Linked DNA regions of Homo sapiens: region 2 is linked to region 1. The links are contacts of gene promoters, found by promoter capture Hi-C in blood cells and fetal thymus (Javierre and others, 2016). All regions are on one chromosome and are shown on one strand. Each heading gives the region's core, a stretch centred on a gene start or on the middle of the fragment in contact. The rest is flanking DNA. Distances are from core to core; before and after follow the strand shown. Region 1 has its middle 7.9 kb from the start of N4BP3. Region 2 holds the start of PFN3 (profilin 3).

Region 1 (5,081 bases), core at 1,834-4,333:
AAAGAAATTAAGAAGGGCCAGGGCTGAATGTGAATGCAGGTCCCTGAGGCCAAGTTCCAGAATCTCACCACGCCAGGATTCTTGGTGGTTTTTTTTTTTTTGAGATGGACTCTCACTCTGTCATCCAGGCTGGAGTGCAGTGGTGCGATCTCGGCTCACCACAACCTCCGCCTCCCGGGTTCAAGCCATTCTCCTGCCTCAGCCTCCCAAGTAGCTGGGATTACAGGAGCACACCACCACGCCCGGCCAATTTTTGTAATTTTAGTAGAGACGGGGTTTCACTATGTTGGTCAGGCTGGTCTCAAACTCCTGACCTCATGATCCACGCCCCCCTCGGCCTCCCACAGTGCTGGGATTACAGGCATGAGCCACCGCGCCCCGCCCCACACCAGAATTCTTTCGAGGAAGTTCATTCCCTCACTCCTGCACACATTCACTTAAGCATGCCGAGGGCCTTGTGGGTCCTGGCCTGTGACAGACCGGGGGTGAAAGAGTCTAGGTGGCCACAGTCCTGCCGTCAACCAGCTTCCATTCTAAAGGCTTAATGTCTGCAACCCAGGGCGCCCGCTACCCAGCCTGGCCCAGCAGGAGTGAGTGGGGAAGGAGATATGCCCCTTCAAAAGGACTCACTCACTGCCCAGCTGTCAGCACCTTCCGGGTCCCCTCAGCTCTCAGATCGAGGCCACCCTGTTCCCTGGTGGCCAGTGACTGAGCAAGGCAGTGGTATTGTTGCAAGATGAGCCGCAGACAAAACTCCTCAGACACTGAGTTAAAGAAGGAAGGGGTTTACTCGGCCAGGGGCATCGGCAAGACTCCTGTCTCAAGGGCCGAGCTCCCCGAGTGGGCAATTCCTGTCCCTTTTAAGAGCTCACAACTCTAAGGGGGTGCGCGTGAGAGGGTTAGGAGGTACGTGACTGGGGGCTGCATGCGCCAGTAATTAGTCGGGAACAAAGCAGGATAGGGATTTTCACAGTGCTTTTCTATACGATGTCTGTAATCTACAGATAACATCAACCATTAGGTCGGGGTCGATCTTTAACTACCAGGCCCAGGGTGTGGTGCTGGGCTGTCTGCTTGTGGATTTCATTTCTGCCTTTTAGTTTTTACTTTTTCTTTCTTTGGAGGCAGAAATTGGGCATAAGACAATATGAGGGGTGGTCTCCTCCCTTAGTATCAGGACCTTTTCTAACGGGGGACTCCTCTGTCAGGCACTTCGATCCAGAGCTCTTCTGCTGGTGCCCTCTGCCCAATCGCCTTCCTCCCCATTTTTTTTTTTCCTTTTTGAGACAGGGTCTTGCTCTGTTGCCCAGGCTGGTCACTGTTCCCTCTGGTGCATTCTTTGTCCCCGTCAACCTGGTAAGCTCCAGGGGCTGGCAGCTGGCACAGAGTAGGAGGCTGCACTCCCTGACTTTTCTATGCTGCACACAGTCCTGTGCCCACCCTGTCCTCAGACCTGCCAGGGCCATGACCAACCTGCCAAGGGCATGGGAAACTGTGTGTAAGACAGCTCTAGGAGGAGGTGGAGCAGGCGGAAGGTAGGGGAAGCTGCTGCCCCAGTAGGTTTAGAGGGAGGGTGGGGTGGGGGTGTGGCAGGGCCAGGCAGGTGAGGGTGTGTGGGTGGGGGTGTGTGGGGGAGGGTGTGGGTGGGGGTGTGCGGGTGAGGGTGTGTGGGTGAGAGTGTGTGAGTGCCTGCCTGGCTCTCCTGGGTGGGGCTGGATGAATGTTTGGGCACAGGCAGCAGCTGTCACATGGCCTGGCTGCGGGTTTGGGACAGAAGCCAGGTAGGTGGGCTGTATCAGGCACAGCTACAAACTGTGCCAAGGAAGCGGACCAGAGCAGGGGCCCGGGGAAACTTCTGCCTTGGCAGAAGATATTGGGGGGACAGGATGATTTGGGGAGGTCTTCCAAGGCCCATGGTGCTTCATGGAGCCAGGGCCCAGGGCAGGGAGGGCTATAACCCTGGCTTGCCTGATTGGCTGAACACAGATAGATGGAAGGGGGTGTGAGCAGACCGCTAGGTGGATGCCTAAGTGAGGAAGGAATGGGTGGCCACGTGGCTGAGACCCCCAAGACCAGGACCCCACTGTCAGGCCTGTGGCTTCCATAGGCCAGTGGGAAGCGTTCCCCTTTGGGCACTGAGGCCATCGGCTTCAGCTTCACACCCTTTTCCAAACAGACAGAAGTCCTTCAGGTAACCTCAAAAGTCACTTCTCCTGGCCTTCCCCAGAGGGGAAAGGAGAGAGCGGTGCTTGTGGGCAGGGGGCCCTCGGAGCTGGTGGAGGGCACAGCAGAGAGACTGCCTGCATGTGGGAGGCCCCCAGCAGACCTTGCCTAGACGTCAGTCCTCGTTTGAGGCAAACTGTAAAATTATTACAATTTAGGCCAGGCACAATGGCCCATGCCTGTAATCCCAGCACTTTGGGAGGCCATGGCAGGAGGATCTCTTCAGCCCAGGAGTTTGAGCCTGCAGTGAGCTATGACTACACCACTGCACTTCAACCTGGGCAACAGAGGAAGACCCTGTCTCTAAAATAAATAAATAGGCTAGTCGTGGTGTCTCATGCCTGTAATCCCAGCACTTTGGGAGGCTGAGACATGTGGGTCACCTGAGGTCAGGAGTTCGAGACCAGCCTGACCAATATGGTGAAACCCCATCTCTACTAAAAATACAAAAATTAGCCAGGCATGGTGGCATGTGCCTGTAGTCCCAGCTACTCAGGAGGCTGAGACAGGAGAGTTGCTTGAGCCCAGGAGGTGGAGGTTGCAGTGAGCTGAGATTGCACCACTGGACTTCAGCCTGGGCAACAGAGCAAGACTCCGTCTCAAAAAAAAAAAAAGAACCCTGGAGTGTGGGAGGGTTTGTGTGGAAGTAAATAAAATCAGCCTCTGCTGGGTAACTTTTAAAGGCAGGCAGTGGGTACGTGGGAGTTTTTAAAAATTCCCTCCCTTTACCTTTGTGTATATTCGAAAATTGTTGTAATTAAGCTTTAAAAATAATCTAGGTAAAGTCTTGGTTAAAAAAAAAAAAATAGTGGCCCATGGCCAGCACCTTTTGGACAACTCTGGACTGTGACAATCCAAGTCACTGTATTACACAGATTTTTTTTTTTTCTGTCTCTTTTTTTTTTTAAGAGGTGGAGTCTTGCTCTGCTGCCCAGGCTGGAGTGCAGTGGCCCAGTCACAAGCTTCTAACTCCTGGCCTCAAGCAATCCTCCTGGCTCAGCTTCCTGGGTAGCTGGGACTGCAGGTGTGCACCACTACACCTGGCCTAAAACATTTCAAATCATGGTAAAATGCACACAAAACCTAACTATTTTTTGAAACAGAGTCTTGCACTGTCGCCCAGGCTGAAGTACATCAGTCCTCTCTCAGCTCCCTGCAAACTCTGCCTCCCGGATTCAAGGGATTCTCGTGCCTTAGCCTCCCGAGTAGCTGGGATACAGGTGTGTACCACCATGCCTGGATAATTGTTGTATGTTTAGTAGAGACGGGGTTTTGTCATGTTGGCCAGGCTGGTCTTGAACTCCTGGCCTCCTGTGATCCACGCACCTCAGCCTCCAAAAGTGCTGGGAGATTTCAGGCATGAGCCACCACACCCGGCCTCTTAACCATCTTGAAGTGTCCAGTTCAGTGGTGTGAAGCACATGTGCACCGTCGTGCCACCCATCCCCGGAGCTCTCTTCATGGTGCTGCTGTAGTTTCACAATGACTCCTCCAGACTTCGTCCACCCCCAACCCCTTGCCATAAATCACTGCAACTGAGGGACTGCAGCCCAGGAGTTTCTGGGCAAAGTACCGTGTTACCATCTGGGGTGGCAGCTCCACCTGGACTTAGCTGTGGGGCTGGTCCAGGTTTCCGGTGGCCTGTAACCCCAGCACTTAGGGAGGTCGGGGCAGGTAATCTCACACCTGTAGTCCCAGTGGTGCATGAGTGGGCCAGTTGGACTGCCTGGACTTCCGGGGTGTGAGTCCTCATGGGCTCCTGAAGGTCTGAGGTCTGCCCCGGGGCAGACACCTGAGCAAGTCATGGCAGCTCTCAACTTCCACCCCAACCTCCTGCCTGGGGCTGCCCCAGTCACCCCTGGGGGTGGGGGGACCCAGGGAAGAGGAAGCAGGAGGAGTGAACGAAGGCTCCTCTCCAGCTCTGCTGACTCGGGGAGGCAGCCCAGGTCCAGGAGTCCACTTTGACCCCAGGTGCGAGAGTGGGGAGGGCTGGGGAGGCTGGGTGGGTGCACAGCCCCACTGGCTCTGCCCCACAGCCACAATACCCCTCTGTGACACAGTTTTAGAACAATCTTGGGCTGGATGTGGCGACTCACAGCTGTAATCTCAACACTTTGGAAGGCTGAGGCAGGAGGATTGCTTGAGCCCAGGAGTTTGAGACCAGCTTGGGCAACATAGACCTTGCCTCTATTTTACAAAAAAAAAATTTTTTTTTTTTTTGAGACGGAGTTTTGCTCTTGTCACCCAGGCTGGAGTGCAGTGGTGTGATCTTGGCTCACTGCAACCTCCACCTCCCGGGCTCAAGCCATTCTCCTGCCTCAGCCTCCCAAGTAGCTGGGATTATAGGTGTGCACCACCACCCCTGGCTAATTTTGTATTTTTAGTTGAGATGGGGTTTCTCCATGTTGGCCAGGCTGGTCTTGAACCTCTGACCTTAAGTGATGTACCCACCTCAACCTCCCCAAGTGCTGGGATTATAGGCATGAGCCACTCTACCCAGCCTAAAAAACAATGTTAAAAATAAATAAAAATTTGTAAAAGACCAATCTTGGAGGACTGGCAGAGCTAGGGCCGGCACCAGGAGTTATCTGTTAGCCTGCGCTTTGCAAGGTCTGAAACCCTCAGATGCTGCCTCTCCAAGAATGCCCAGCTCTCCTCCCTCAGGCTGGGGCCTGGCCCAGCTCCAGGGGAGAGAGGACAAGGGAGGGCAAGGAGTGAAAGGCGGCCAGGGGACACAAAGCTGTCAGGTCCCTGGACATGCCCAGGGGATGCTGCCTGCTTTACCAATGAAGAATCCGAGGCTCAGGAAGGTCACCAGGAAGTCACGGACAGGACTGGGATTCAGAGCCAGGGCTGCC
Region 2 (5,081 bases), core at 1,261-3,760, 710 kb before region 1:
CGCCACCCTATGCTGTGCCAGGCCTGAGCCCCGCTCACCCCCGCTGCCCCCCAGGGTCTTCCTGGAGGAGCTACCCCCTGCCACACCCTCCCCCCGTCTTGCACTGCCTGCTCACCACAATGCCACCCGCCTCTAGGCTGTGGGCCCAGACTACAGCCTGGAATGGGGAAGGCCTGGGGTGGAAAGGCAGGGGAGGGAGGGTGTGTGTAGGTATGTGCATGTGCCTGTGCCACCCTGGGTGCCAGTCTCTCCTTCTGTAGCTCCGCAAAGCTCTGGGCTTGTGTGAGAGTGTCGGTGTGTGTGCATGTGTGGGGGTGAGTCTGCATGTGCACCTGTCATGTGTAGAAGCTTGTATTTGTGTACAGGTGTGCCAGCCCATGCAGGTGTACACAGACACACCTGTGGGAGGCTGTGTGCAGGCTGCAGGATATCTGGGTATGATTTCAGGTCCTCTGCACGTGTACACATGACTAGGATAGGCAGGAGTAAGGGTGGGTCTGGGTATATGACTGTGCAGCTGTTTGTGCATAGATGTTGGTGCCTGCGTTACTGAATTTGCACACCTCCTTGCCACCTTCCTTCCTCCAAGATACCATCTCCTCATCCTAACCCAGGTCTTCGGCACCACCACAATTAATTCCCTTCCCAACACTTGCCTGATGGAAAAAAAACAAAGGAATTAAAACTCTCCTCAGGCATTCGGAAGTCTTTTTGCTCTCCATCAATGGCAAAGGGAAGACCAAGCCAGGGGGTTCAGCAGCACCATCTCCCCTCAAAGACTGGCTGCAAGAGCAGCCTGCCCTGCCCAGGCCAGGTGCAGTTCCAGAGAAGCCAGCCCTGCAGGCTCACCCCAACCATCTGCCTGGCCCTACCTTAGTGAGTCCAAACCACAATTCAAACTCCCTGGAAGCCCCTCCTAGGCCTGGGGCCACCCCCAAGGCAAGTGTAAGGAGGATTCTGCACCCCCACCCCCTGACCCCCACCTGGCTGAACTTCCTCTGGTCTCCCTCTGCCCTCTAAATTCACCCACCTCAGCCACACATCACTCCTTCCTGCTGGGATAAGATCAGGGCTCCAGAATAAGTGACAGGTGGGGTCTGCCATCAGGGCCGCTGGGGGAGGGGACGGGAAGGGTGGGGGTGGGCAAGAGAGGCCATGCCCTGGGCCCCAGCACATGGAGGGCAGGGACCAGACACCCTCCCTCCCACTTTTGTCCACTATCTTTGGGCAATAAACCAGGCCTCAAACTTACCCAAGCTTTTCAATTCCCCCTCCTCCATAGGTCACCCTGAAACTGAGGCCTGCAGAGTGAGACTCCCGGGTAGGGATGCCAGAGTTCCTCCCTCTAGTCCAGGGACTCCTGCGGGGCCTTTTCGAAGGCCTGGGGAAGGCAGGATGTAAGGTCTCAAACCCAATTGCGATGGTCTTGGACATGAGCCCTCTCAGTAGGCTCCCCTTGGAGGAATGTGGGCAGAGATGCAGAGGCCTGTGAGCCCCAGAACTGCTTTACAAGCCACCAAGCCCATCCTGTCACCCACTCACAACTTGCTAGTGCTTGAGGTATGAGTGGAGGGGGGAGGAGCAAATTGGCCTCCAGCCTGACACCCTGATGGGGAGAGGTGTTCGCGGGATGGGGAGGGGGCTCCCTTTACTTGTCCTGCCTAATGTGTGGGAATATCTCTGAGAAAGGACGCTAAGGCTGAAACAGACTTTGAGAAGCCCCCACCCTTGGACTCTTCCTCAGCTGCGGAGTCCCTAGGACCCTGGGAACGCGCCAAGGAGCAGCAGTCAGGCCAGGAGCCTCTGCAAGGCGTCCATGGGAGAGCAGGGTGTAGGGCACAGGGGCCTGGCAGCCTCTAGACTCAAAATCCCGGCTCCACCAGGTAACCGTCTTGCAAAGACCAGTTTCCTTATTTACAACTCCCCCCACCGCGCAAGTGGAGGAGGAGCCAGCCGCGCCCAGGTCACAGTTTATTTGGCCCGCGCTACCAGTGGGCGGCCTGGCTGGCCGGCTAGGCGCCCTGCATGCGCAGCCCGCGTATGAGTTCGTGCACCGTCTTGTTGAGGATGCCCCCATGTACGCCGCGTCGGCCCATTAGCACCAGGAGCGCGCGCGGCGCACGGCCCACGCACACGGCGCGCGCGTCCAGCCCCTTGGTGCGTGCGTCCAGCACGCCGTCACCCTCGGCCAGCAGGTGGTCGCGGATGACGCAGCAGCGGCGGCCCCCCACGCTCAGGCCCGCCTGCAGGAAGGTGTGCCTGTCCGGCCCCGTGAGCACGCCCACCTCCTGCGGCGAGATGGCCGCCAGCAGGCCCCCGGGCCGCGAAGCCCACACGCAGCTGTTGTCCGCATGGCCCACGATGGCCACGTCGTCGATGCGCTGGTCCCGCAGCACTGCACTGATGTAGACCTTCCAGTCGCCCATCGCGCTCCGAGTGCGCCCAGCCGCCTCGCACCTCTCGGGGAAATATAGAGGCGCCACGCGGGGAAGGCCTGCGGCGCTGTGAGGCAGGCTGGGCGGGGCTGTGACGTCACACAAGGCGCCGTCCCGGAGCGACCACCCAGGCTGGGGCACGTGGGGCGTGGGCGTTTAGTGCTGTCGCAGTTCTAAGGTTATCCTGTAGGATGGGTTTGGCAGAGCGCAGCGGCTCACTCCTGTAATCCCAGCGCTTTGGGAGGCCGAGGCGGGCGGATCGCTTGAACTCAGTAGCGAGATTATAGTAAACTATTATAGGATCGTGTCGCTGCACGCCAGCCTGAGCCACAGAGCGAGGCCCCGTCTCTAAAAAAGCAAAAACAAATTTTAATTAAAAAAAATTTTTTTGAGATGAGGTCTCACTATGTTGCCCAGGCGGGTCAGGAAGTCTTGAGCTCAAACAATCCTCCCGCCTCAGCCTCTCAAAGTGACGAGATTACAGGCGTGAACCACCGCATCTGGCCAATCTATTTTTAATTTTAAAAAGCTGGTTTTGTGAAAAAAGGATGTTGTGTCTGGACAGCCAGACCTTCACTTGTAAGGGAACCAACCATTCAACCCCCAGATTGTGGTTCTTAAGCATGAGAGAACATCAGAATCCCCCGCAAGGCTGTTAAACAGATTGCTGGGCCCCACCCCAGACTTTCTGTTCAGCAGTATAAAGTGTAGCCCGAGAATTTGTTATGTGTAACAAGTTCCCTGGTGATGGTACTGCTAGCCAAGGGACTCTCAGACCCACTACACTAGTGCGTGTTGGGGTGGGGACAACGATATGTCACCCAGCCCTTAGGGTCCACGCCACAGTCAATGCTCTTTTTTTCTATTTTCTTTTTTCTTTTCTTTCTGTCTCTCTCTTTCCCTCCCTCTGTTCCTTCCTTCCTTCCTTCCTGCCGGTTCAAGTGATTCTCCTGCCTCAGCCTCCTGAGTAGCTGGGACTACAGGCGCACGCCGCCGTGCCCGGCTAATTTCTTGTATTTTAGTAGAGACGGGGTTTCATCGTGTTGCCCAGGCTGGTTTCGAACTCCTGAGCAATCCACCTGCCTTGGCCTCTTAAAGTGCTAGGATTACAGGCGTGAGCCACCGCGCCCGGCCAATGCTAAGTATTTCTAACCACGATTCTCAACCTTGGCTGTACATGGAATTATCTGGGGAGTTTTACAAATATACCACTACCCATGCCCCATCCCTAGACATACTGATTTAATTGGTCTGAGGTGGAACTTGGGCATAGATTGGCTCAAAACGCTCCCCAAGTGATCTTAATGTATGGTCTGAGAACTACTGCTCTGTAAACAAAATGTTAGTTTCTCATAAGGAATAACATGCAGCTTCTCCTTGCACAGGGCTTGGTATACAGTATCCTAGGCTCAGTAAACATTAGCTGGGCTGGCATCTAGATTTTGCACGTTAAGATCTCATAGACCTTGTTCTCTGAGAGCTGTGGAGAAGCTGTGAATCGCTTTTCTGTCTTGGCATTTCCCGGCGGGACCCATGAAGAAAAGAGCTTTCCTTCTCAGCATTTTCAAAGCACTTTATTGAGTTCCTGCGCCATCCTGGCGCGGAGCTGGCCGCACTGGGGGAATGGGACACAATCTTGCCTTCCATGCCCCAGCCACTCTCTCACTGCGGAATCACCAAGGAGGGAAAGATGAGTCCCTGAGCAATCAGGAAACGGTGTGCTCCCGGATCCAGGCCAGGTAGTAGGCCACATCGGTGTAGACGCCTGGCTTGTTGCGGTCACCACAGCCCGATCCCCAGCTGATGATGCCTTGCAGGGTGAGCCGGCGCTCTGCAGCTTGGTCCTCACACACCAGCGGGCCTCCGGAATCACCCTGGGTCGGAAACACGCAGCTCAGCGCTGTGGACCTGAGATTTGTGCCTGACGGCCTCGGGGAAGGGCGCCAACCGGGCTAAGAGCTCACCTGGCACGCATCGGTGCCGCCCTCGAGGAACCCTGCGCAGAGCATGCCGGGGAGGATGGAGGATCCGTGCACGTCCGGGGCTGAGCAGCGCTCCAGGGAGAGGAACGGTACCTGCGCCTCCTGCAGGAAGCTGGCATATTCCTCCGCCCCTGCGAACACAGAGCGCCTTCTTCACACCCCATCTGACAACGCTTGCCGCCCGGACGATGGACAAAGCTGCTCCAGGCGCTTGTAAACCCACTCATGCCCTTCCTCTCTCGCAGCAAGCCCGAAGGGGAGGAGGTGCCATTAATTCAATTTCATAGGCAAGGAGGCTGAGGTCCAGAGAAAAGCCAGGATTTGAATGGGCGGAGCGGAAACAGAAACCCCTCCCCCACCACCCATCCAGAGTCGCAGAACCTGGCTCCCACACTAGCCCGGAGCGCGGGGCCAGCGTCCTAGTTGGCCTTTGCAGCCCGGCGCCCAGAGGGAACCAAGAGCAAGTTCGATTCTCCCTGTATCCCCAGGAGATTTGGGGATCCCAGCAGTGAATCCCAGGCCCTGGGATTCTACCTGGGATTCACCTACACATTCTCACAACCCATCAGGTCAGCGCCACCCATTCTGTAGGCACCCGGAACGATACCAAAGTCGCGGGCTTCTTCCGCCTAACCCAGTGATCAAAGGTCTCCTCCCCTACCCC

The links. Contacts are between HindIII fragments. The CHiCAGO score rates a contact against its expected background, and 5 or more counts as called.
Region 2: a contact is called between the fragment with the promoter of PFN3 here and a fragment that was not itself captured in region 1, in 1 of 17 cell types (total B cells). The highest score is 5.7, in total B cells.

The regions. Positions count from the first base shown.
Region 1 is chr5:178,103,046-178,108,126 of GRCh38, forward strand. No RefSeq gene overlaps it. Among named protein-coding and RNA genes, the nearest start is that of N4BP3, 7.9 kb to the right of the region's middle. The HindIII fragment of the contact is 200 bases long and covers 2,984-3,183 here.
Region 2 is chr5:177,398,151-177,403,231 of GRCh38, forward strand. PFN3 (profilin 3) reads right to left here and starts at 2,511. Exons shown (of 1, transcript NM_001029886.3): 1 at 1,959-2,511. The coding sequence starts at 2,426. The coding sequence ends at 2,013. It overlaps SLC34A1 (solute carrier family 34 member 1), which reads left to right. Exons shown (of 13, transcript NM_003052.5): 13 at 1-698. The coding sequence ends at 136. It overlaps F12 (coagulation factor XII), which reads right to left. Exons shown (of 14, transcript NM_000505.4): 13 at 4,400-4,548; 14 at 3,991-4,309. The coding sequence ends at 4,142. RefSeq lists an enhancer at 3,820-4,677. The HindIII fragment of the contact is 6,138 bases long and covers 1,256-5,081 here.